Regions from separate parts of the Homo sapiens genome. Here all the other regions are linked to region 1. The links are contacts of gene promoters, found by promoter capture Hi-C in blood cells and fetal thymus (Javierre and others, 2016). All regions are on one chromosome and are shown on one strand. Each heading gives the region's core, a stretch centred on a gene start or on the middle of the fragment in contact. The rest is flanking DNA. Distances are from core to core; before and after follow the strand shown.

The links. Contacts are between HindIII fragments. The CHiCAGO score rates a contact against its expected background, and 5 or more counts as called.
Region 2: a contact is called between a fragment that was not itself captured here and the fragment with the promoter of TSSK6 in region 1, in 1 of 17 cell types (non-activated CD4 T cells). The highest score is 5.1, in non-activated CD4 T cells.
Region 3: a contact is called between a fragment that was not itself captured here and the fragment with the promoter of TSSK6 in region 1, in 1 of 17 cell types (non-activated CD4 T cells). The highest score is 5.1, in non-activated CD4 T cells.
Region 4: a fragment that was not itself captured here is called in contact with the fragment with the promoter of TSSK6 in region 1 in 2 of 17 cell types (total CD4 T cells and naive CD4 T cells); the score reaches 5.6 in total CD4 T cells.
Region 5: a contact is called between a fragment that was not itself captured here and the fragment with the promoter of TSSK6 in region 1, in 6 of 17 cell types (naive B cells, non-activated CD4 T cells, total CD4 T cells and 3 more). The highest score is 8.0, in naive B cells.
Region 6: a fragment that was not itself captured here is called in contact with the fragment with the promoter of TSSK6 in region 1 in 9 of 17 cell types (naive CD8 T cells, naive B cells, activated CD4 T cells and 6 more); the score reaches 8.9 in naive CD8 T cells.

Annotation. Positions count from the first base shown.
Region 1 is chr19:19,513,674-19,517,243 of GRCh38, forward strand. TSSK6 (testis specific serine kinase 6) reads right to left here and starts at 1,875. Exons shown (of 1, transcript NM_032037.4): 1 at 546-1,875. The coding sequence starts at 1,754. The coding sequence ends at 933. It overlaps NDUFA13 (NADH:ubiquinone oxidoreductase subunit A13), which reads left to right and starts at 2,552. Exons shown (of 5, transcript NM_015965.7): 1 at 2,552-2,659. The coding sequence starts at 2,566. RefSeq lists a silencer at 2,121-2,240 and an enhancer at 2,451-2,730. The HindIII fragment of the contact is 18,272 bases long and covers 1-3,570 here.
Region 2 is chr19:19,909,282-19,913,377 of GRCh38, forward strand. All of the region lies in intron 1 of ZNF93 (zinc finger protein 93), which reads left to right. Among named protein-coding and RNA genes, the nearest start is that of ZNF93, 10 kb to the left of the region's middle. The HindIII fragment of the contact is 1,625 bases long and covers 1,324-2,948 here.
Region 3 is chr19:19,769,690-19,773,339 of GRCh38, forward strand. The region is part of intron 1 of LINC00663 (long intergenic non-protein coding RNA 663); the gene reads right to left. Among named protein-coding and RNA genes, the nearest start is that of LINC00663, 4.9 kb to the right of the region's middle. The HindIII fragment of the contact is 452 bases long and covers 1,647-2,098 here.
Region 4 is chr19:19,929,969-19,933,735 of GRCh38, forward strand. ZNF93 (zinc finger protein 93) reads left to right here. Exons shown (of 4, transcript NM_031218.4): 4 at 3,214-3,767. Among named protein-coding and RNA genes, the nearest start is that of ZNF93, 31 kb to the left of the region's middle. The HindIII fragment of the contact is 4,278 bases long and covers 1-3,526 here.
Region 5 is chr19:19,948,634-19,952,494 of GRCh38, forward strand. It overlaps the pseudogene BNIP3P12. Among named protein-coding and RNA genes, the nearest start is that of ZNF93, 50 kb to the left of the region's middle. The HindIII fragment of the contact is 2,967 bases long and covers 778-3,744 here.
Region 6 is chr19:19,964,779-19,968,712 of GRCh38, forward strand. It overlaps the pseudogene BNIP3P12. Among named protein-coding and RNA genes, the nearest start is that of ZNF93, 66 kb to the left of the region's middle. The HindIII fragment of the contact is 4,313 bases long and covers 87-3,934 here.

The sequences.
Region 1 (3,570 bases), core at 625-3,124:
TCTGTCTCAAAAAACAAACAAACAAACAAACAAACAAACAAGAGATGAGGTCTCGGCTGTGATGCCCAGGCTGTTTTCGAACTCCTGACCTCAAGATATCTGCCCGCTTCGGACTCGCAGTGTTGGGGTTACAGGCGTGAGCCACCGCGCCTGGCCCTTGGCTCTGCCTTTTGGCAAGTGACATCCATGTGGGCCTCAGTTTCCTTATCTATAAACTCCTACTTTACGTGGAGACAGGCCACCCTCGCCCCACCCCTGGCTGTTCCATTCTTAAAAGATGTGGACGGCGAGGCGCTGGGGTCCACTTGCTTCCCAGCCCATCATCACAGCGACATCACGACCCGGGGACAACAAAGCTCCTTTGAGTTTGCCCATACTGGGGAGCTCAAAAGGTCCAGGCTCGAATCCTCCCGACTCCCTTTTGAGTCTTGGAGCAATAACCTCAACATGCGTGACTCTAAAATAGGGTACCCGCGCCTGCCTTCCCCGGATGGAGCGATCGCTTCTCCACTAGTCCGCAAATGGGGGCCACCGTTAGAGCCAGGTGCGAGGAACAGCGAGTTTATTGCAGGTTCCAACCGGGAACCTGGCACCCACGGCTGGTTGGGAAGGGACGCCCTCCGCGCAGAGGCTGAGAGTTCCGCGCAGGCGCAATGCTTCCGTCCCCTCTGGTCTCGCCCTCTCGGGGCCTGGTCGCAGGGAATCGCGGATGCGCATGCGCCTCCAGCTCCCGGGATCGCGGGGAACGTGGATTCCGAACAAGGGCAACTGCGGACTCCCCCGTGGGAAGAAAGGGAGGGAAGCGGAAGGGAAAAAGCGCATGTGCAGCAGCACGCGGCAGCTTCGCATATTCCCTCGAAGCGCGCCTCTTGCGCGTGCGCCGCCCTGGCCCAGTGCCCTTGGCTGCAGGAATGGCTGGAACCACCCGGCTTCTAGCCGGAGTCCCCGGCGCGCAGCCAGCAGTTGCGCGCTACCTGGCCCGCGGAGGGCCTGGCGGACGGGCTGAACTGCAGCAGCTCGGCGATCAGGGCCTTGCAGCGCTCGGACAGCTCGAGGCCTTCGGGATAGAGCACGCCGCGTTTCTGGCGCCGGGGCAGGCCGGCGATGTCCGAGTCGTCGAAGGGCATGCACCCGGTGACCATGACGTAGAGCACGACGCCCATGCTCCACACATCGTACTTCTTGGGGTCGTAGGGGATGCCCAGGAGCACCTCGGGTGACGCGTAGGCGGCTGAGCCGCAGTAGGTGGTGCTCAGGTCTGGGTAGCCATGGGCCTGGCGGCCGAAGCCGAAGTCGGTGAGCTTGACGCGGCGCTCGTCCGGGCTCAGCAGCACGTTTTCGCACTTGAGGTCGCGGTGCACCAGGTGATGATCGTGCAGGTAGCGCACGGCGCCGGCGATCTGCGCAAAGAGGTCGCGCGCCTGAACTCCGGGGATGCGCCCGTTGCGCTGCACGGCTTGCAGCAGGTCGGTGGCGGCCGCTTCCATCACGATGTACAGTTTCCCGTTGCACACCTCGATGAACTCGAAGACGTGCACGATGTGCGGGTGTCGCACGCCCCGCAGGATGGACAGCTCTCGCGGCAGGAACTTGTTGACGAAGTCCGGGGGCGCTCGCCGCCGGTCCACCACCTTGATGGCCACGGTACCCTTGTACTTCTTGGATGTGGCCACCTTCACCTTGGAGTAGCTGCCCTCTCCAATTGTGCGGCCCAGCTTATAACCGAGTTCGCTCAGAAGTTTGTCTCCCGACATGGTGGCGCCTAGGGCGCACGGGGGGCAGGAGGCGGCTGCTGTCGGGGGGCGGCCGGACTCCAATCTCGGGTCTAAGCCATGGCGCTTGGCACCTACACCCCCGCACCCCCATGTGCCCACTGCCAGACATTGGCCGCTGTTGTGCCTTTTATTGCCCCGTAACAATTTTTGCCTTGTGAAGTGACTGCGGGCGTCACTCCGCCTTAGGGTGGGGGTCCGGGACCCCGCCCCGGGGCCACCCTAGCCTCCCTGCTTTGTGACTCATAATCATCCTGAATGGTCAGTTTCCGATGAGAGGCCACTAGCAAGGGATACCCATCACCACCAGGGAGCAGAATCCGTTCCAGGGATTGGGGTGAGTCCGACTTCGAGCAGCAGCTGCCCCCCAACATCATGTACCCAGCCCGTGACTACGTGGAGCCCTGGGCTTCGCGTAGAGTCCCTAGACGGGGCGAAAACGGGAAAAGGGGCCTTAACTGGGGCACCTGGCTCCTTTGAGAGCTCGGAGTTTCTGACTGGCCTGCGCAACACCCCAGAGGCAAGGTGAACGCGAGGGCCTATAATGCAAGAACCAAGGCGAGTCACGCCCTGTCTGGGCAAAAGAGGAGTAAAGACCCCTCAGCTGCAGCCCGGCAGCGCATTCCTACCCAGGGTCCGCCGCCAGAGCTTTCCCGCGCGGTCGGATAGTTACACTACTGTCCGGGACTTCCTAGCCGTGCCGCGGACCATCTCAAGTGCTTCCGCCACACTCATCATGGCGGTGGCAGTAAGTCACTTCCGCCCGGGACCGGAAGTGTGGGATACTGCGAGTATGGCGGCGTCAAAGGTGAAGCAGGACATGCCTCCGCCGGGGGGCTATGGGCCCATCGACTACAAACGGAACTTGCCGCGTCGAGGACTGTCGGGTCAGTATCACTCTGCGCCGGGGTCTCAGAGTCTGGGCACTCGGGGCTCGGGGGCGGGGTTCCGGGGACACAGGCGGGCCTCAGTTTTCCCGGCGGTGTGACCGGAGGCGGAGCCCGGGGATCCATCATAGCTTCTGTAATAACGCTAAGTGCTGCAGTTTGTTGAGGTCTTTCCCAGCTCCTCTTCCTTCTCGTAACAGCCCAGGAAATCGGTCCCTCTAGTTATTTACGTTTTACAGTGGGTTAAACTGAGTCATAGCCTGTGCTCTGGCCCTCAGCCACCCTTGGATTTCTAAGATGGGGAAACTGAGGCCCAAAGAAGGCCGCGGCTCCCCAAGGCAAAGCTGAGGCCGCAACCCGGAACCTGGAGGGAATTTACAAGATGTTCTATGCAGTGGTTCCCTGCTGGCAGCCCCCGCCTGCATGGTGTCACAGGAATCCATATTCTTTAAATTTTCAATTTTTTTTTTTTGAGACGGAGTTTTGCTCTTGTTGCCCAGGCTGGAGTGCAATGGCGCCATCTCGGCTCACCGCAACCTCCGCCTCCTGGGTTCAAGCGATTCTCTTGCCTCAGCCTCCTGAGTAGCTGGGATTACAGGCATGTGCCACAACGCCTGGCTAACTTTGTGTTTTTAGTAGAGACGGGGTTTCTCCATGTTGGTCAGGGTGGTCTCGAACTCCCAACCTCGGATGATCCGCCCACCTCGGCCTCCCAAAGTGCTGGGATTACAGGCGTGAGCCACCATGCCCGGCGTAAAGTTTTCAAATGTTTAAGTAACACGTTAAATTTTGTTATCGGGCTCAGCACAGAAAATTGAAAAAGAGAACTTAAAAGGCGCCCATACTCAGTCCCCAGGTTAACAGACAAATAGAAACTTTTAAACGTAATCTAAGAGTGAATACATACATTT
Region 2 (4,096 bases), core at 886-3,385, 400 kb after region 1:
AGGAGTGCTGTAGCCCAGTGCCAGGGAGTACAGAGCCACTGCTCTAAAATGTAAATAGCCAAAAAGAACACTATTCAGCCATTTTTGTAGCAGAGTGAAAGCCTAGCTTCAGCAGACACCTGGCTTCAAGCTGCTAAACCAACTCCTGTTATGAAGATGTGAAAAGTTTATTTGTCATTGAATATAAGCAATTAGTATACACAGATGGCCTCTTCAGTATCCAGGTGAATTTAGGATGAACTATATATGACATGGTGCTGAAAATTCTTCTACTTGTGGACTAATTATGATGACCATCTTTCTGACTTTGCAGTCTCTTAAGCAGATTGATGATGATGTATGTCACATTCAAGTTTAATTGTGTAATAAGACCATTTTCTTTCTGTTCTATTATTGTGGAGTTTCTCTGAAAATAGAGAAAATTTTTCTTTTAATTATTGTTTCCACAGAGTGTCTAGAATTACCAGACATGATATAAACACATAAGGTGCCAACCAGAATTTACTGTAGAGGGGACTTTCCCTCTCAGACTTTGAGTCAGCCCATACTTGCGCAGCAAAATGCATGCTGTCCATTAAATATGCACGTGGAATTTTGTCTCTGCCTATTTGGTATTGATAGTTCCTCTACTGTCACTTCTAGAGAGGCTAGACCCAATTTCTACAAACTTCACAGGGCAGCAATTAATTAATCATTTAACCTTTTTCAGTGACTCTTGTATCTTCAGATTTGAAACTGATTCAGAAACTATGGAGCCCAGAAACCCAATCAGAGTAACATGTGTGTGCTGAGTAGACATAGAGACATGAGAATCTCCACTTTCCCCTTCCTCCTCTTGCTAAATGCTCACAAATGTACAGGTAAACACCTGTGGCTACTCCAGTCGTTCAGGCCCTAAACTTGAAGCTCCAAATTTTGAATCCAGGTCTTGAGATTTGGGGGAAAAAAAAACTTACCTAAGAAATGCAAGTCCCTTTGGTTATCAAACTCAGACATTAAAATGAAAGTACTGTTATGTCTTTCTCCCCCCTTTGAACTATGTATTCATCTCTTGAAACTGTTCACTATTGCCACAAGTAATTATAAATTAAACTAATAATGCCACATTAGACACTATATCCCATACCCTAAACCATAATAATATATATGTAATCAATAATCGATGTTATTTCTGTAAATAAATAAAAATTTCTGACAATCAACTTTGTATCAGCCCACTCTCTGTCCCTGTCTTGTTGTCTTTACAAATTGTCTTGTAACTGCTGGTAATCAAAATGCAGATTCCAGGCAACTTGAATCTTTGCTCCCAGGTTATAATCCTTAAGCTTGACCCAAGTAAACTATCTACTTATATTCATGTTCTTTCAGCTTTTTTTTTTTTTTTTCATGTAGACTTACCATTTAGAATGTGCTAGAGTAGTCTCTATGAGGGGATCTCTCCTTTGATTGTATTCCACTTGCTGTAACACCAAAGGATGCAGAGCCAGGTGGATCCTACCTGGAATCTGCAGATAAGGTCTGGCCTCTGCCTGGGATTTACAAGAAAGGACCAGAACTTGGATTGAGAATGTACAGAAAATGAACAAAAGTCATTTTCTGCATTGTGAATGTAAACATAGACATCTTACAGCCCCCATTTGGGAGTGTGGCTCTTTGAGATTTTCACATCTTGTTCATTGACCTGCTACAGTTATGTGAGGGGCTCCAGGAGAAATAGACTCAGATGGCAGAATCTGTAAGTGTAAATAAGCATCTTAGGAGTGAGAGATCGGGGCCACAAAGTATCCAGAGCCATGACCACAATTATATTTAGCTGTAAAATGTAATACTAGAGTAGAGTATTTTTGATCTTTCTCTTACCCAAGAGCTAGCAAATCAGAATGGGTGATCCAGGTTCTGGAGCTCCACCAGGGCAGTTCCATTTTCTATTCAGAGTTAGCCTGAGTCTCTCCAGCCTGGCTTATCATTGGGCCATGAGGCCTGGGTCACTGGGAATCTCTCACAATCACCCAGGTGTCTTTGAGGCATTTGAGGATGTCCAGAGCAGAATTTTGTCAGGCTGACAAGAGTGGTTAATTCTGCTTCTGTCTCAGTGTAAGAGAAATGAGTCATCCTGTGTTTGTTCATTCCCTCATACAAGAGATATCTTTGGTTGGTACCCCGATGACAGCTTCTCCAGTTTCCTGGTACTTGGATAATAAGGAGAAGATCTGGAGACCCAGATAGATAAACTAGCTCCTTCCACTTCATATGGGCATTAAAAAAATACATGAAGCAGTCATAGTTCCTACAATCCAGAAACTTTTAGTCTAGACTAGCTACTGGATAAGTAATTGAAGTGTGCATCATATGGTTGGTATAATAAATAGATGTGTTAAAAATCTTGGGCTTTAGACCACTTTCTTTATATTGTTGTGACTTCTGATGTCTACACCTGAAGGGAGATTTATGAACAAAATAATTGTTATAAATTCTTTTTTTTTTTTGAGATGGTGTTTCACTCTGTCACCTGGTCTGGCTTGCAGTGGCACGATCTCGGCTCACTGTAAACTCTGCCGCCCGGGTTCAGGTGACTTTCCCTTCTCAGCCTCCCGAGTAGCTGGGATTACAGTTGCCTGCCACTGCACCTAGCTAATTTTTGTATTTTTACTAGAGGCGGGGTTTCATCATCTGGATCAGGCTGGTCTTTAACTGCTTGACCTCGTTCTGCACCCGCCTTGGTCTCCCAAAGTCTTGAGATTACAAGCATGACCCACCGCGCTTGGCCGTATATTTTCTATTTCTTTTACCTTGCTAACTGTAGATATTTATTTTCTAATAAAATTACCCTAGAAAACCTTAAGGGATTTGTTTAAGTTGCATACTAGTATATAGTATAAAGTTGTCAGGGCAGTGACTAGAAAAGATAAAAACTACAGAAACTCTGGGATTTAAGTTTCTTTTAGGTAAGCTTAGAAACAAAACAAAACTGGAAGTTTCCTAGTTGCATAGAGAACAGAATTCTACATAGGGTTCTCACCCTGCCCCAGACGTGTTCAGATTCATCCTTTTTGGAGACCTTAGTTAGGTCTGAACCTACCCTGGAGTATTGCCTCACAGAACTCATTAAAGGAGATCAGAGTTTTGGCTGCTGAATCCTGCTGCCTTTCTAGAGCTGGTGCTCACAATTTCCTGAAATTCAAAAGCAGATAAATCGGGAAAAAAAGTATGTTTTGTAAGGTGTTTGTTTTTAAATTTTTTATTAAAACCAGTGCTTGCAGAGACATTGTATTTAGCAACTTGTTTTCTATTCCTGCAGATCCAGTAGTTGCTGCACAAGTCAAAAAAGTAAATATAAACAGAATGAAATTTTCTCTAGACTACATTAAACTCTTCTGTATCTCTTTCATCTGTCTATATTTAGCTTTTATTCTATACAATTTTTTAAAAAATTTGATGACAGAGAAACAGAAGAAAAAATAAAAATGGGCCCTTTATCTAAATCCTGAAAATTAAGAAACACTTAGTACCAGCTCCCCGGGTGTTAAGAGAATTAAATCATATAATGTGTTATGCCCAGCACCGTGCTCTGTATCATACTCTAGCACATAGTGCCTGCTTAATAAACATTGCATTAGTACCTGTGTACATGTTCTTTTTAAAATACAGACTTATTCAGATATTGCTGTCTTCTGTTTCCTCTGTAAATTTTAAAGAGCCAGCAAAAAATATAAAACTTTTAAATGGAATGGGCTGTCCTTATTTTTACTAGAAGTATTTGGTTATGGCAAGAGTGTTAAGTGTAAGGGACCCTGTGCTGTTCCTGCTTTCTCTAACTAATGCTCATAATGAGCCAGTGGGGAGCAACATCAGCATTGACAGGGGACTTGTTTAAAACACTCATTCATAAACCCTCTTCAAACATACAGAATCACATTACAGAATGTGCGGCCACAATTATCAAGTGATTTATAAGCTCGTTAAAGCTTGAGAGGCAATGCTTAGCTTAGTGGTTATCAGCCCAGGCTTCTCATTAGGATCACATGACCAATTTGCTGAAATCTCTTGTACCCTCCCCACAGCTTCTGTTTATTGTTGTGGGTGGAAGCATCCATGT
Region 3 (3,650 bases), core at 623-3,122, 260 kb after region 1:
CGCCGTGTTGGCCGGGCTGGTCTCCAGCTCCTGACTGCGAGTGGTCTGCCACCCTCGGCCTCCCGAGGTGCCGGGATTGCAGACGGGGTCTCGCTCACTCAGTGCTCAATGTTGCCCAGGCTGGAGTGCAGTGGCGTGATCTCGGATCGCTACAACCTCCACCTCCCAACTGCCTGCCTTGGCCTCCCAAAGTGCCGAGATTGCAGCCTCTGCCCGGCCGCCACCCCGTCTAGGAAGTGAGGAGCGTCTCTGCCTGGCCGCCCATCGTCTGGGATGTGAGGAGCCCCTCTGCCCGGCCGCCCAGTCTGGGAAGTGAGGAGTGCCTCTTCCCGGCCATCATCCCGTCTAGGAAGTGAGGAGCGTCTCTGTCTGGCCGCCCATCATCTGGGATGTGGGGAGCACCTCTGCCCTGCCGCCCCATCTGAGATGTGAAGAGTGCCTCTGCCCGGCCGCGACCCCGTCTGGGAACTGAGGAGTGTCTCTGCCCCGCCGCCACCCCATCTGGGAGGTGAGGAGCGTCCCTGCCCGGCCGCCCCGTCTGAGAAGTGAGGAGCCCCTCCGCCCGGCAGCCGCCCCATCTGGGAAGTGGGGGGCAGCTCCCGTCCGGCCAGCCGCCCCGTCCGGGAGGTGTACCCAACAGCTCATTGAGAACGGGCCATGATGACAATGGCGGTTTTGTCGAATAGAAAAGGGGGAAATGTGGGGAAAAGAAAGAGAGATCAGATTGTTATTGTGTTTGTGTAGAAAGAAGTAGACATAGGAGACTCCATTTTGTTCTGTACTAGGAAAAATTCTTCTGCCTTGGGATGCTGTTAATCTATAACCTTACCCCCAACCCCGTGCTCTCTGAAACAGGTGCTGTGTCCACTAAGGGTTAAATGGATTAAGGGCGGTGCAAGTTGTGCTTTGTTAAACAGATGCTTGAAGGCAGCATGCTCTAAGAATCATCACCACTCCCTAATCTCAACTACCCAGGGACACAAACACTGTGGAAGGCGGCAGGGCCCTCTGCCTAGGAAAACCAGAGACCTTTGTTCACTTGTTTATCTGCTGACCTTCCCTCCACTATTGTCCTATGACCCTGCCAAATCCCCCTCTCCGAGAAACACTCAAGAATGATCAATAAATACTAAAAAAAAAAAAAAAAAAAAAAAAAAAAAGCAGAATAAAATCAGAAAAAAAAAGGTAAATTTAAAGTATAAGAAGCTGGGCAAGGCGTGGTGGCTCACTCACGCCTGTAATCCCAGCACTTTGGGAGGCTGGGGTGGGCGAATCACTTGAGGTCAGGAGTTCAAGACCAGCCTGGCCAACATAGTGAAACCCTGGCTCTACTAAAAATACAAAAATTAGCCAGGTGTGGTGGCTGGTGCCTATAATCCCAGCTACTTGGGAGGCTGAGGCAGGAGAATCGCTTGAACTGGGGAGGCAGAAGTTGCAGTGAGCCGAGATCACGCCACTGTACTCCAGCCTGGGCAACAGAGTGAGACTCCATATCAAAAATAAATTTAAAATAAATAAATAAAGTATAAGAAGCTGGAAAAAGATACAAGTAATCAAGGAAAGCATGAGTAGTTACAATAATATCGGATAAAGTAGATTTCAGAGAAAAAAATTGAGACATGGAGAGAAATTACATAATGATAAAAAGCTTAATCCACCCAGAAGACCCAGCAGTCCTAAATGTGTAGGCATAAATCAACAGACATGAAAAATGTGAAACAAAAACTGGAACAAACAGAGGAGAAACAGACAATAAGACAAATACACAATTATCGTTGGAGATATTGACATTTTTCTCTAAACAATAGAACAGAGAAAATTTCAGCAGCAAATCTAAAAAAAAGACAACAGTTCAACACCATCATTCATCAACAGGATCTGGTTGACATTTGTAGAGTAATTTAATCAACAGCAGCAGCATATGCATTCTCTTCAAGGGCTCATGGAACATAAAGTAAGATAGACCATCTCCTAGGCCATGAAACAAACTTCAACAAATTTTAAAAATCAGATTACACGGAGTGTGTTCTCGGATCATAATGGAGTCAGACTAGAAATCAATAATGTGAAGACAATGCAAACATCTCCAACTCTTGCAAGCTTGAAGGGGAAGTCCCTGGGAAAACAAAAAATACATTGACCACAAAGATGATGAAAAGACAATGGATCAAAATTTGTAAGACACAACTAAAGCAGTGTACTGAAGAAACTGATGGCACTAAACTCATATATTAGAAAAGGCTGGTCGGGCGCGGTGGTTCAAGCCTGTAATCCCAGCACTTTGGGAGGCCGAGGCCAGGAGATCCAGACTATCCTGGCTAACACGGTGAAACCCGGTCTCTACTAAAAATACAAAAAAAAAAAAAAAAAAAAAAAAAAAATTAGCCGGGCGTGGCAGCAGGTGCCTGTAGTCCCAGGCTGAGGCAGGAGAATGGCATGAACCCAGGAGGCGGAGCTTGCAGTAAGCCGAGATGGCGCCACTGCACCCCAGCCTGGGCGACAGAGCAAGACTGTCTCAAAAAAAAAGAAGAAAAAAAAGAAAAAAACTAAGTCTCCAGATAATCTAATTTTCCACATCGATAACCTGGGAAAAGGTCAAACTTAATAAACTAAACCCAAACAAAAGAAGTATTAAGAAAGAAATAATAAAGATAGGAAGAGAAATAAAGTTGAGACTCAGAAAGTAATAGAGAAAAACCAATAAAACAGACAGCTGATTTTTTTTGAAAAGATCAATTAAATAGACAAACCTCAAGCAAGACTAAGTGGGGGAAAGGACAAGACACAAATTACCCTGTCAGGAATGAAACAAGGGATATCGGCCAGGCGCGGTGGCTCACGCCTGTAATCCTAGTACTTTGGGAGGCTGAGTCAGGTGGATCACAAGGTCAGGAGTTCGAGACCAGCCTGGCCAATATGGTGAAACCCTGTCTCTACTAAAAATACAAAAAATAAAAATTAGCTGGGCGTGGTGGTGGGTGCCTGTAGTCCCAGCTACTCGGGAGGCTGACGCAGGAGAATTGCTTGAACCCAGGAGGTGGAGATTACAGTGAGCCAAGGTCGGGCCACTGCACTCCAGTCTGGCTACAAAGCGAGACTCCATCTCAAAAAAAAAAAAAAAAAAAAAGAAACAAAGGATATCATTACATACCCTGCAGACATAAAAAGAATAATAAAGTGTATTAGTCGTCTAGGGCTGCCATAAGAAAATACCAGAGTCTGGGTGAGTTAAAATAAATCATCTCACAGTTCTGGAGGCTGGAAGTCTAAGATCAAGGTCCCAGGACAGCTGGTTTCTCCTGAGCCCTCTGCGTATGGCGCCACCTTCCTCTGTATCCTCACATGGCCCTTTTCTTTTTTTCTTTTCTTTTCTTTTTTTTTTGAGATGGAGTCTCACTCTGTCACCGAGGCTGGAGTGCAGTGGCACGATCTCGGCTCACTGCGACCTCCGCCCCCCAAGTTCAAGCGATTCTCCTGCCTCAGCCTCCTGAGTAATTGGGATTACAGGCGCCTGCCACCGCGCCCGGCTAATTTTTTTGTATTTTTAGTAGAGACGGGGTTTCACCATCTTGGCCAGGCTGGTCTTAAACTCCTGACCTCGTGATCCACCCGCCTCAGCCTCCCAAAGTGCTGGGATTACAGCCGTGAGC
Region 4 (3,767 bases), core at 138-2,637, 420 kb after region 1:
GTAGAAATAAAGACACAAGACAAAGAGATAAAAGACAGCTGGGCCCGGGGGACCACTACCACCAAGACGTGGAGACCGATAGTGGCCCCGAATGTCTGGCTGCAGTGTTATTTATTGAATACAAAGCAAAAGGGGCAGGGTAAAGAGTGTGAGTCATCTCCAATGATAGGTAAGGTCACGTGGGTCACGTGTCCACTGGACAGGGGGCCCTTCCCTGCCTGGCAGCCAAGGCAGAGAGAGAGAGGGAGAGAGAGAGACAGCTTATGCCATTATTTCTGCATATCAGAGACTTTTAGTACTTTCACTAATTTTGCTACTCTTATCTAAAAGGCAGAGCCAGGTGTACAGTATGGAACCTGAAAGCAGACTAGGAGCGTGACCACTGAAGCACAGCATCACAGGGAGACGGTTAGGCCTCCGGATAACTGCAGGCAGGCCTGACTGATGTCAGGCCCTCCACAAGAGGTGGAGGAGTAGAGTCTTCTCTAAACTCCCCCAGGGAAAGGGAGACTCCCTTTCCTGGTCCGCTAAGTAGCAGGTGTTTTTCCTTGACACTGAGGCTACTGCTAGACCGCGGTCTGCTAGGCAACGGGCGTCTTCCCAGACGCTGGCATTACTGCTAGACCAAGGAGCCCTCTGGTGGCCTTGTCTGGGCATAACAGAAGGCTCTCACTCTTGTCTTCTGGTAACTTCTCACTATGTCCCCTCAGCTCCTATCTCTGTATGGCCTGGCTTTTCCTAGGTTGTGATTATAGATCGAGGATTATTATAATATTGGAATAAAAAGTAATTGCTACCAACTAATGATTAATGATATTCATATATAATCATATCTAAGATCTATATCTGGTATAACTATTCTTATCTTATATTTTATTATGCTGGAACAGCTCATGTCCTTGGTCTCCTGCCTCGGCACCTAGGTGGCTTGCTGCCCACAATATAATATCAATTTTTGTCTTGTAGAAGTACTTGATTTAAAGCATATTATGTCTAATATAATTATGACCACCTTACTCAATTGTGGTTGCTATTTTCATGGAATATACATTTTTTTCATTCTGTTACTTTCTGCCTATTTGACTTAATGCTAAAGTAAGTCCCTTGTAGGCAGCACACTGTATGCTTTTTTAAAAAAACCACTTAGGCATTCTATATCTTTTTCTTTATATAATTTTATTTATATATATATTTATATTTGTATTTATTTATTTATTTATTTTATTTGGTTTGTTTTTGAGATGGAGTTTCACTCTTGTTGCCCAGGCTGGAGTGCAATGGCATGATCTCAGCTCACTGCAACCTTCACCTCCCAGTTTCAAGTGATTCTCCTGCCTCAGCCCCCTGAGTAGCTGGGATTACAGGTGCATGCCACCATGCCCAGCTAATTTTTTGTAAGTTTAGTAGAGACGGGATTTCACTATGATGGCCAGGCTTGTCTTGAACTCCTGAATTCAGGTGATCTGCCTGCCTCAGCCTCCCAAAGTGTTGGGATTACTAGCATGAGCCACTGCACCCAGCCTCATTTATTTTTGAGATAGTGTCTCACTCTGTCAACCAGCTTATTTGTATTTTTTGTAGAGACAGAGGTTTGCCATGTTGCCCAGGCTGATCTTGAACTTTTGGGTTCAAGTGATCAGCCCATCTTGAACTTCCAAATTCCTATGATTACATTTCATTTTATTTAGTAGTTTAATCTATATTTAAAATGATTGGTTAAAGAAATGAAGTTGTTATTACCACTAATATTGTTATTGTTTTATGTGTTTCTAGTAGTTATATTTTTCTCATTTCCTGTTTTACTTACTTAATTTTCATTTAATTTTGTACTGGCATGCTTTGATTATATTTTATTTTCTTTTGCATACTTTGTATAAATAATATCTTAGTAATCATCTCAAAAACTGGAGATTACATACATCTTAAAGTTAAAACAATATATTTTAATCTCATAACAACTTCAATTGAATAAAAACTATGCCTCTATATTTTCCAGTTTGTTATTGATATAAAAATTATTTTATATGGTGTATCTACAGGTGCACGCCTGTTATCCCAGCACTTTGGGAGGCCAAGGTGGGTGGATCCCGAGGTCAGGAGATCGAGACCATCTGGCCAACATGGTGAAATCCCATCTCTACTAAAATACAAAAAATTAGCCAGGCATGGTGGCCCATGCCTGTAGTACGAGCTACTCAGGAGGTTGAGGCAGGGGAATCACTAGAACCCAGGAGGCACTCCAGCCTGGGAGACAGAGTGAGACTCCATCTCAAAATATATATATATTTCCAAATATTCAGTTTGGTCTTATTATATTGACATTGTTATGCAACATATCACTAGAGTGTTTTTTATCTTGCAAAGCTAAATCTCAGTACACAGTAAATAACTACCAATCCTTTGTATTTTGTGGTTCTTTTCAAACACCACTCTGTTTTCTGTTTCTAAGAGTATAACTGCTTTATATATCTCATCCAATCTCTGTCTTTTTGCGGCTGGGTCACTTTATTTTGCATAATGTCATCAATATTTATCTTAATAGTTGTTACAGTATTTTCTGCTTTTTGAAAACTGAGTGATAATTCCTGTACTTTTGTGTCTACTGAATGATTTGGTGACACAAATTTCGATTACTTTTACCTAGTGGCTTGCAGTAACAATGCTACAATAATTATGTGAAAGTTAATGTAATATATTTGCTGCATTCTGTTTTATTAGTCTACTTTTTCACCTTTATACTCATACCAAATTATTTTAATTCTGTAGCTTTTTGATGTGTTTTGAAATCAGAAATGGTATTGCCTGTAACATTGTTCCTGTTTTTGAAGATTGCTGGGTACTTTATTGTCTGTTTGGATTCCATATACTTTTAAATTTGTTGTTTTTATTTCTTTGAAAATGCTGTGAGTCATTTGAAAGACATTGCATTAAATCTGTAGATTAAATTGAGCAGTAAAGACATCTTCAAAATATTGTTTTTCAATTGTTTGTTTTTGAGATGGAGTTAAATTTACCTGCCTTACCAGTTACATTTGTGCCATTTTGGTTTGTATGTTTTTGTTACATTTATATGTTCAGGAAGACATTACAGCTTGTGGTATTTTACTATGTCATCTTAGTTATGTAGTTTGTATAATTTTATAGGTTAGATTTGTAAAGTATATTTATCTGAGTCTAGCAATTGAAGTAATGTGTTTTTATTGTTTCTTTCAGTTATATGTTCTCATTTTGCCCAAGATCTTTGGCCAGAGCAGAACATAAAAGATTCTTTCCAAAAAGTGATACTGAGAAGATATGAAAAACGTGGACATGGAAATTTACAGTTAATAAAAAGGTGTGAAAGTGTAGATGAGTGTAAGGTGCACACAGGAGGTTATAATGGACTTAACCAGTGTAGTACAACTACCCAGAGCAAAGTATTTCAATGTGATAAATATGGGAAAGTCTTTCATAAATTTTCAAATTCAAATAGACATAATATAAGACATACTGAAAAAAAACCTTTCAAATGCATAGAATGTGGCAAAGCTTTTAACCAGTTCTCAACCCTTATAACACATAAGAAAATTCATACTGGAGAGAAACCCTACATTTGTGAAGAATGTGGCAAAGCCTTTAAGTACTCCTCTGCCCTTAATACACATAAGAGAATTCATACTGGAGAGAAACCATACAAGTGTGATAAATGTGACAAAGCCTTTATTGCATCCTCAACCCTTAGTAAACATGAGATCATTCATACTGGAAAGAAACCCTACAAGTGTGAA
Region 5 (3,861 bases), core at 1,011-3,510, 440 kb after region 1:
ACGTGAAACAGTATGAGACAAAATATCAAAAAGGGAATAGAAAAGCCAACGAGGCTGCAAAAGAAGCCTCCCTCTCATCAGCCCCTGCCCCTGTCCTCCTTGTTACCCCAGCAATCCAACCCAGGTACTCCCCCACCAAGAAGGCTTTGCTACTACAGCAAGAAGCCTCCTTTCAAGGGGACTGGATAATCAAAAGTCAAAAGCTCATCCTCCCCCAAGAACAAACCAAATAAATTCTAACATCTCTTCACCAATCCTTCCATATCGGTGCACACTTCCTGTACCTACTCCTTTGCCCTTATTTCTCCTCCCCCCACCTATTCATCTCACTAAGACACATAACCTCAAACTGTCATATATGCTCTGTTACTTCCTCCCAAGGGGCCCTCCGCTCTCCTCCTATTCCTACACATCAGCTCAGAGGAACACTCCCAGAGGAGGACTGACAGGTAGACTTCACCCACATGCCTCCCGTCAAGAAGACAAAATTTCTTCTTACTCTTATAGACACCTTCTCTGGGTGGGTAGAGGCATTACGTACCTCTTCAGAAAAGGCCGCAGTAGTCTCTCAAATCCTTACAACAGAAATCATCCCTATATTTGGTCTCCCTCACTCCATACAATCAGACAATGGCCCTAGCTTCATCTCCCAGATCATCCAACAGGTTTTTCAGTCCCTTGGCGTCCAGAGGTGCTTCCGTATCCCATAATGGCCCCAGTCATCCAGAAAAGTCAGAAGGGCAAATGGGATCCTTCAGGCTCAGTTAACCAAACTCAAGCTTAAAGTCCAAAAACCATGGACCTCCCTTTTGCCCATAGCACTGGCCTGCATCAGAGCAAGTCCGAAATCACCCTTCTTCCTTAGCCCATTTGAGTTAATGTATGGACGCCCTTTCCTCTTACAAAACAGGCCTCCTCTCGACTCCCAGCTAGGAGAATATCTCCCAACCTTCTCCCTTATCCGTCATCTCCTCTGTGAATGATCAAGCCCTCCCAAAACCCCACAAAGGCCCCACTGACTGGACTCTCCTACCAGGAAAGTATGTCTTCCTAAAAACTCTTAACCCAACAAGGCTAAAACCAAGGTGGGAAGGCCCTTTTCAAATTATCCTTACAACCCCCACTGCAGCCAAACTCAGGACATGCCTCTTGGTACCATCTTTCCAGAGTAAAAAGGGCTCCTGCAGTGCCTACTGAACCACAGACTGTCCTCCACCAATCCTCCAGCACCCTCCTTTGTCCAACCAAACTCTGCCTGACGCCCATCCCTGAAGAAGGCCCACGAGCGGTAACTCTTTTACATATCACTTCTGCCCCTGCTACAGATGCCAAGGTCCTCGTGACAAGGAACAGCCTCACCCTACAGCATACCAAATATTAGAATCCCTCTCTTCTCTCCCCATTTCCACATGAGGAAAAGTCTTAACCCACCTATACCTTGCCCATCTGCAAGGAGAATTTGACCATCCATGGGACGCTATCAGCCACCTCATAGACCCCCTAGAAGAAGCCACCTCCCTGTATGGATCCTACCAGCTCCTCTCTCCAACAACAGATTCTGATTCTTCCTCAGATTCCTAATTCTTTTGACAGCCAGCCCCATGGCCTCTACCTCCTCAGGGTCCCTTCTCACTTCTACAAGTCTCGAATGATCTCTCAACCTCACTCACTTTTTGTTACTGTGCTCCAATTCAACATTTGCTTCCAGTTTCTGGACCTATTTTTGCCTTTCCTCTACTGCCTACTCAGCTATCCCAATTTCTTAGCCCTGAGACCATTTTCCCATTCACTTCTCTTACAACATCCAAAAGGGACCTGCCTTTGTAGACAGAGCCCTCACTCTCACTGGAAACTATCCCACTGCCCTCACTGACAGAGCTACCAAGCTCCTCTTCAATCTATATTGCCAACTATGATGACTCAAAACTCCCATACCCCACCATCCAAGGTCTCATAACTCTCCATACCACAAGACTTGGCCAAGCCCCCTTATGCATCACCTCTTCCAATGGACACGTACACGTAGGCACCCTCCTTCCCTCTGCCTGTAACTCAACCCGAACCATCTCTCACCCTTCCTCCCATATCTCACTCTGAGTGGATTATTCAGTCTCCCCTGAAGTCAACGGTCTCTTTACTCAGCCCTTCTGCATTTCCTCCCTCCCACCTCTCAAACATGGAAACCCCTTCCTTGGACAGGAGTGCTCAAAGGGGTTTCTGTCTCTTTCTCACTCTGGGTTGCTGAAGCTGAGCCAAGTCCCTCCAAGTGGGGAACCTACAAACTGCAACACCTACTCTCAATCCACCTGTCTGTTTGCATAAATACCTCAGGCATCTTCTTTCTCTGCGGGTCCACAACATACTTCTGTCTCCTTACTAACTGGACAGGCACTTGCGCCCTAGTCTGCCTTACTCCCAACATTAACATTGTCCTTTCAAACCAGGAACTCCCTGTTCCAGCTACAATACATACCCACTCAAAAAGAACAATACAGTTGATTCCCTATTCACAATAGCAAAGACATGGACAGGCCCTAAATGCCTATCAATGGATAAAGGAAACACGGTATGGTCAGACGCGGTGGCTCATGCCTGTAATCCCAGCACTCTGGGAGGCTGAGGCAGGTGGATTGCCTGAGCTTAGAAGTTTGAGACCAGCCTGGGCAACAGGGCAAAATCCTGTCTCCATGCAAAATACAAAAATAGAAATTGGCCAGGTGTGGTAAAGCACATGTGTAGTCCCCCCACACCAAGTACTTAGGAGGATGAGGTAGGAGACAATTGCTTGAGCCTGGGAGGTTGAGGCTAAAGTAAGCCAATATCATGCTATGACACTCTAGCCTGGGCCATAAGTGTGACCCTGTCTCCAAAAATAAAATAAAATAAAAGATTTAGTAAAAACAAAATATGGTACATAAACATCGTGGAATACTCTGTGGCCATTAAAAAAAGTGATCATGTCCTTTGCAAAAACATCAGTGAACCTGGAGACCACTATTCTTAGAAAACTAACGGAGAGCCTGGGCATGGTGGCTTGTGCCTGTAATCCCAGCGCTTTGGGAGGGAGGTGGGCAAATCACCTGCAGTCGGGAGTTTGAGACCAGCCTGACCAACATGGAAAAAGCCCATCACTACTAAAAATACAAAATTAGCAGGGCATGGTGGCATGCACCTCTAATCCCAGCTACTAGGGAGGCTGAGGCAGGAGAATCGCTTGAACCTGGGAGACGAAGGTTGCAGTGAGCCAAGATTGCACCATTGCACTCCAGTCTGGGCAAAAAGAGTAAAACTCCATCTCAAAAAACAAAACAAAAAACAACAAAAAAAGAGAAAACTAATACAGAAACAGAAAACCAAATGCATGTTATTATTTATAAGTAATAGCTAAATAATAAGAACACATGAACACAAAGAGAAGAACAACAGACACTGAGGCCTAGATGAGGGTGGAGGGTGGGAGGACTAAGAGGATGAGAAAACAGACCTGTTTGGTGCTACGGGTAGTACCTCAGTGACAAAATAATCTGCACACCAAACCCCCATGACATAATTTTAGCTGTAAAACAAAGACACATGTATATCCCGAACCAAAAATAAAAGCTAAAAGAAAAAATATCCCTGGATGGCAGAGTGCAATGTAGCTGAAAGGACTGATTTTCACTACAGATAGTGGCCCAGGTGGGGCTGTACTGATTTATTTCTGTGTGAATGCAGGCAGATGAGATCATGAACAGGTGGCCCAGAAGCTTAGGTTGGTGGAGAAAACAAGTTGCTGCTGCAGATTCAGTGTCTGAGGGTGGGGATATGCCAGAAGACTTGTAGACACTTGTGGGTTCTTGGCAAGAAACACTAGGATCAAAA
Region 6 (3,934 bases), core at 993-3,492, 450 kb after region 1:
GTTTTTTCCCTTCTCCCCTTCCCATTGCAATTTGCTTATTATATCAATTTGCTTATTATATGTGCATGGCCATTTACATGGAATAAAGCTTGTTTACCCTTAACGGTATTGTGTATGTGTCTTTTCTTCTCCCCTCATGCATTTCCTACACAGAACACCATATTTCTCAGAGGCTTTGTTTGCTCCTTTTAATTCTTTTTTCTGTAAACTTGTCTGCATGCCTCATTTCGGCAAGGTGGTCTTCAAACTCTGATATCCTTTCTTCTGCTTGGTCAATTTGGCTATTGATACTTTCGTATGCTTCACGAAGTTTTTGTGTTGTGTTTTTCAACTCCATCAGGTCATTTATGTTCCTCTTTAAACTGGTTACTCTATTTAGCAGTTCCTCTAACCTTTTATCAAGGTTCTTAACTTCTTTGCATTGGGTTAGAACATGTTTCTTTAGCTCAGCGGAGTGTGCTGTCACACATCTTCTGAAGCCTACTTCTGTCACTTCGTCCATCTCATCCTCTGTCCAGTTCTGCACCCTTGCTGAAGAGACATTGTGATCATTTGGAGGAGAAGAGGCACTTGGGCCTTTCAGGGGTTTTTGTTGATTCTTTCTCATCTTCATGAGTTTGTCTAGTTTCCATCTTTGAGACTGCTGACACTTGGATGAGTTTTTTTGTTCTGTTTTGTTTTGTTTTGAAATAGAGTCTCACTCTGTCACCCAGTATGGAGTGCAGTGGCACAATCTTGGCTCACTGCAACCTCCGCCTCCCAGGTTCAATTGATTCTCATGTCTCAGGCTCCCAAGTAGCTGGGACTACAGGCATGCACCACCACGGCAGTCTAAGTTTTGCATTTTTTAGTATAGGCAGGGTTTCACTATATTGGCCAGGCTGGTCTCGAATTGCTGACCTCAAGCAATCTGCCTGCCTCGGTCTCCCAAAGTGTTGGGATTACAGGTGTGAGCCACCACGCCCAGCCTTGGATGGGGTTTTTGTGGGTATGCTTTTGTTGTTGATGCTGTTGTTGTTTCTTCCTGTTTGTTTGTTTTTCTTTCAATAGTCAGGTCCCTCTTCTGTAGGGCTGCTGCAGTTTGCTGGGGGGTCACTTCAGGCCCTATTCATCTGTTTCACTCCTGTACCTGGAGATGTCACTCAAGAAGTTTCGAGAACAACAAAGAAGGGTGCCTGCTCCTTTCTCTGGGATCTCTGAACTCAAGAGGCACCAACCTGATACCAGTAGGATCGCTCCTGTATAGAGTGTCTGACAACCCCTGCTGAAGGGTCACACCCAGTTGGGTGGCATGGGGAGCAAAACCCATTAAATGAAGCACTTTGACTGTTCCTTGGTGGAGGAGGGGCTTTTTGCTAGGGAAAATCCCACTCGTCTGGGCTGCCCGAATTCCTCAGAGCAAGCAGGAGGAAAGGCTAAGTCTGCTGATTCACAGAGGATGCAGCCTCTTCTCCCCCTAGGGGCTCAGGCCCAGGGAGATCACAGTTCTGTCCCTGAGCCCCTGGCTGGAGCTGTTGGAGTTCCTGCTGGGAGGCCCTGCCCAGTGAGGAGGGATGGGTGAGGGTCAGGCCTGAAGAGACATTCTGGCTGCAGTCAGCCACAGCCGGTGTGTTGGGCTGTGGGGGACACCTCTTGAGACCAAGCTGTCCAGCCTCCCTGGCTCTAGCAGGGGAAAAGTGTGGTCAGGAGCTATAGATATGGCTGCTGCCTTTCCCCACCCAGGGATCTTAGCCTGTTAGGCAGTTGTGAGTCCCCGTGCTGGCTGCTGTCCCTCCCCCAAGGAGCTCAAACAGCTTAGACAGCAGCAAGCCACAGCTGTGGTGCTGGTCGTCCCTCCACTGGGAACTTAGCAGGCTTAAGCAGATTCTAGCTGAGAGGCTGTTGAGAATCTGCTCAGCTCCAGGGTTGTGTCAGGCACAGTAAGTTCCTCTTCAAAGGGTAACTTCCTTGTTCTTTGTTCTCAAATTCAACTTCCTTGTACCTTCCTGCTCCTAACTACCTGCTCTTCCTGCCAGTAAACAACTCTTCCAGCCAGTCCCAATCTGTAACCCACATCTCTTCTTATTTGGAAGAAGTCCTCCTCACTCCTAGTTACCTGCTCTGTAAACAAACTTCCCGCCTTTCTCTATTTAGCCAATCCAGTTAGTTTAGATTGTGCAGTCTGACTCCAGCCAATGGGGACAGGACACAGAAGTAGGGACTGCATTAGGGATAAAAACCCCTTCCCTCTCTTGTATGGTGTGCTCTCACAACAGCCAGAGACATGAGCAGCCTCTTCTGCAGAAGTAAATTTGCCTTGCTGAGAAATTCGTTGTTTGAGTGCTCATTTTCTTTGTGACTCCAAGCTCTTGTTTCCAACAGTTGGAACCTTAGGCTCCAGTGGCGTGGGTTCACAAGTTGAATCTTCTAATCAGTGGGATTCACTGTTCCATAGAGAAAGCGCAGTTTCCCAGACTGAGTAGCCTGCTCACTCACTGCCCCCCTTGGCTGGGGCTGGGGGCTCCCCAGCCCCATTTGGCTGTCAGGTGGGTTGCCACACCACACTGCTTTTCCTTCCTCTCCATGGGTCACACCAGCCACCTAGTCAGTTCTGATGAGAGAAACTGGATACCTCAGATGTCAGTGCAGGATTCACATGCTATTATGGTTCTTTTCTATGGGATGCTGCTGCTAGTCAGCCATCTTGGCCCCACCCCCACCAATTTTTCTTTGAATGTCTGATAGAGTTCAGCAGTGAATTCATCTGGTTCTGAACTTTTGTTTTTGCTTGGCAATTTGTGAAATTATTATTTCAATCTCACTGCCTGTTATTAGTCTGTTCAGAGTTTGTTTTTTTAATCTAGGAGGATTGCACATTTCCAGGAATTTATTCATCTCCTTTAGATTTTCTAGTTTTTGCATGTAAATGTGTTCATAGTAGCCCTGAATGTGATCTTTTGTATTTCTGTGGCATCAGTTGCAATAGCTTCCATTTCATTTCTAATGGAGCTTATTTGGATCTTCTCTCTTCTTTTCTTGGTTAATGCTGTTAATGGCCTATGAATTTTATTTATGTTTTCTAAGAGTTAGCTTTTCATTTCATTTATCTTTTGTATTTTTTTTCCGTTTGTTTCAGTTCATTTAGTTCTGGTCTTTCTTTTCTTCTGCTAGGTTTGGGTTTGACTTGTTTTTGTTTCTCCAGTTCCTTGAGGTGTTATCTTAGATTGTCTACTTACGCTCTTTCAGACTTTTTGATGTAGGCATTTGATACTATGAACTTTCCTTTTAGCACTGCTTTTGCTGTATCCCAGATGTTTTGATAGGTTGTGTCACTATTATCTTTCAGTTCAAAGAATTTTTAATTTCTATCTTGATTTCATCCAACGATCATTCAAAAATGGGTTGATCTTAAGTTTAATGTTTTTTCCAAAATTTATTTAATTTTCAAGTATTTGCATGGTTTTGATGGTTCATTTGGAGTTGATTTTCAATTTTATTACACTGTAGTCTGAGAGAGTAGTTGATATGGTTTTGATTGTCTTAAATTTATTGAGACTTGTTTTGTGGCCTATCATATGTCTATCTTGGAGAATGTTCCATGTGCTGATGAATTAAATGTATATTCTGAAGTTGTTGGGTAGAATGCTCTGTAAATATCTGGCAAGTCCATTTCTTCTAGGGTATAGCTTAAGTCCATTTTTTTTTTGTTATTGTTGACTTTCTGTCTTGATGACTTGTCTAGTGTTGTCAGTAGAGTATTGCAGTCCCCCATTATAATTGTATTGCCATCTATGTAATTTCTTAGGTCTAGTAGTAATTGTTTTATAAATTTAGGAGCTCCAGTGTTAGGCGCATACATATTTAGAATTGTGATATTTTCCTATTGGACTAGTTTCTTTATCATTACATAATGTCCCTCTTTGTCTTTTTCTTTTTGACTGTTTTTGCTTTAAAG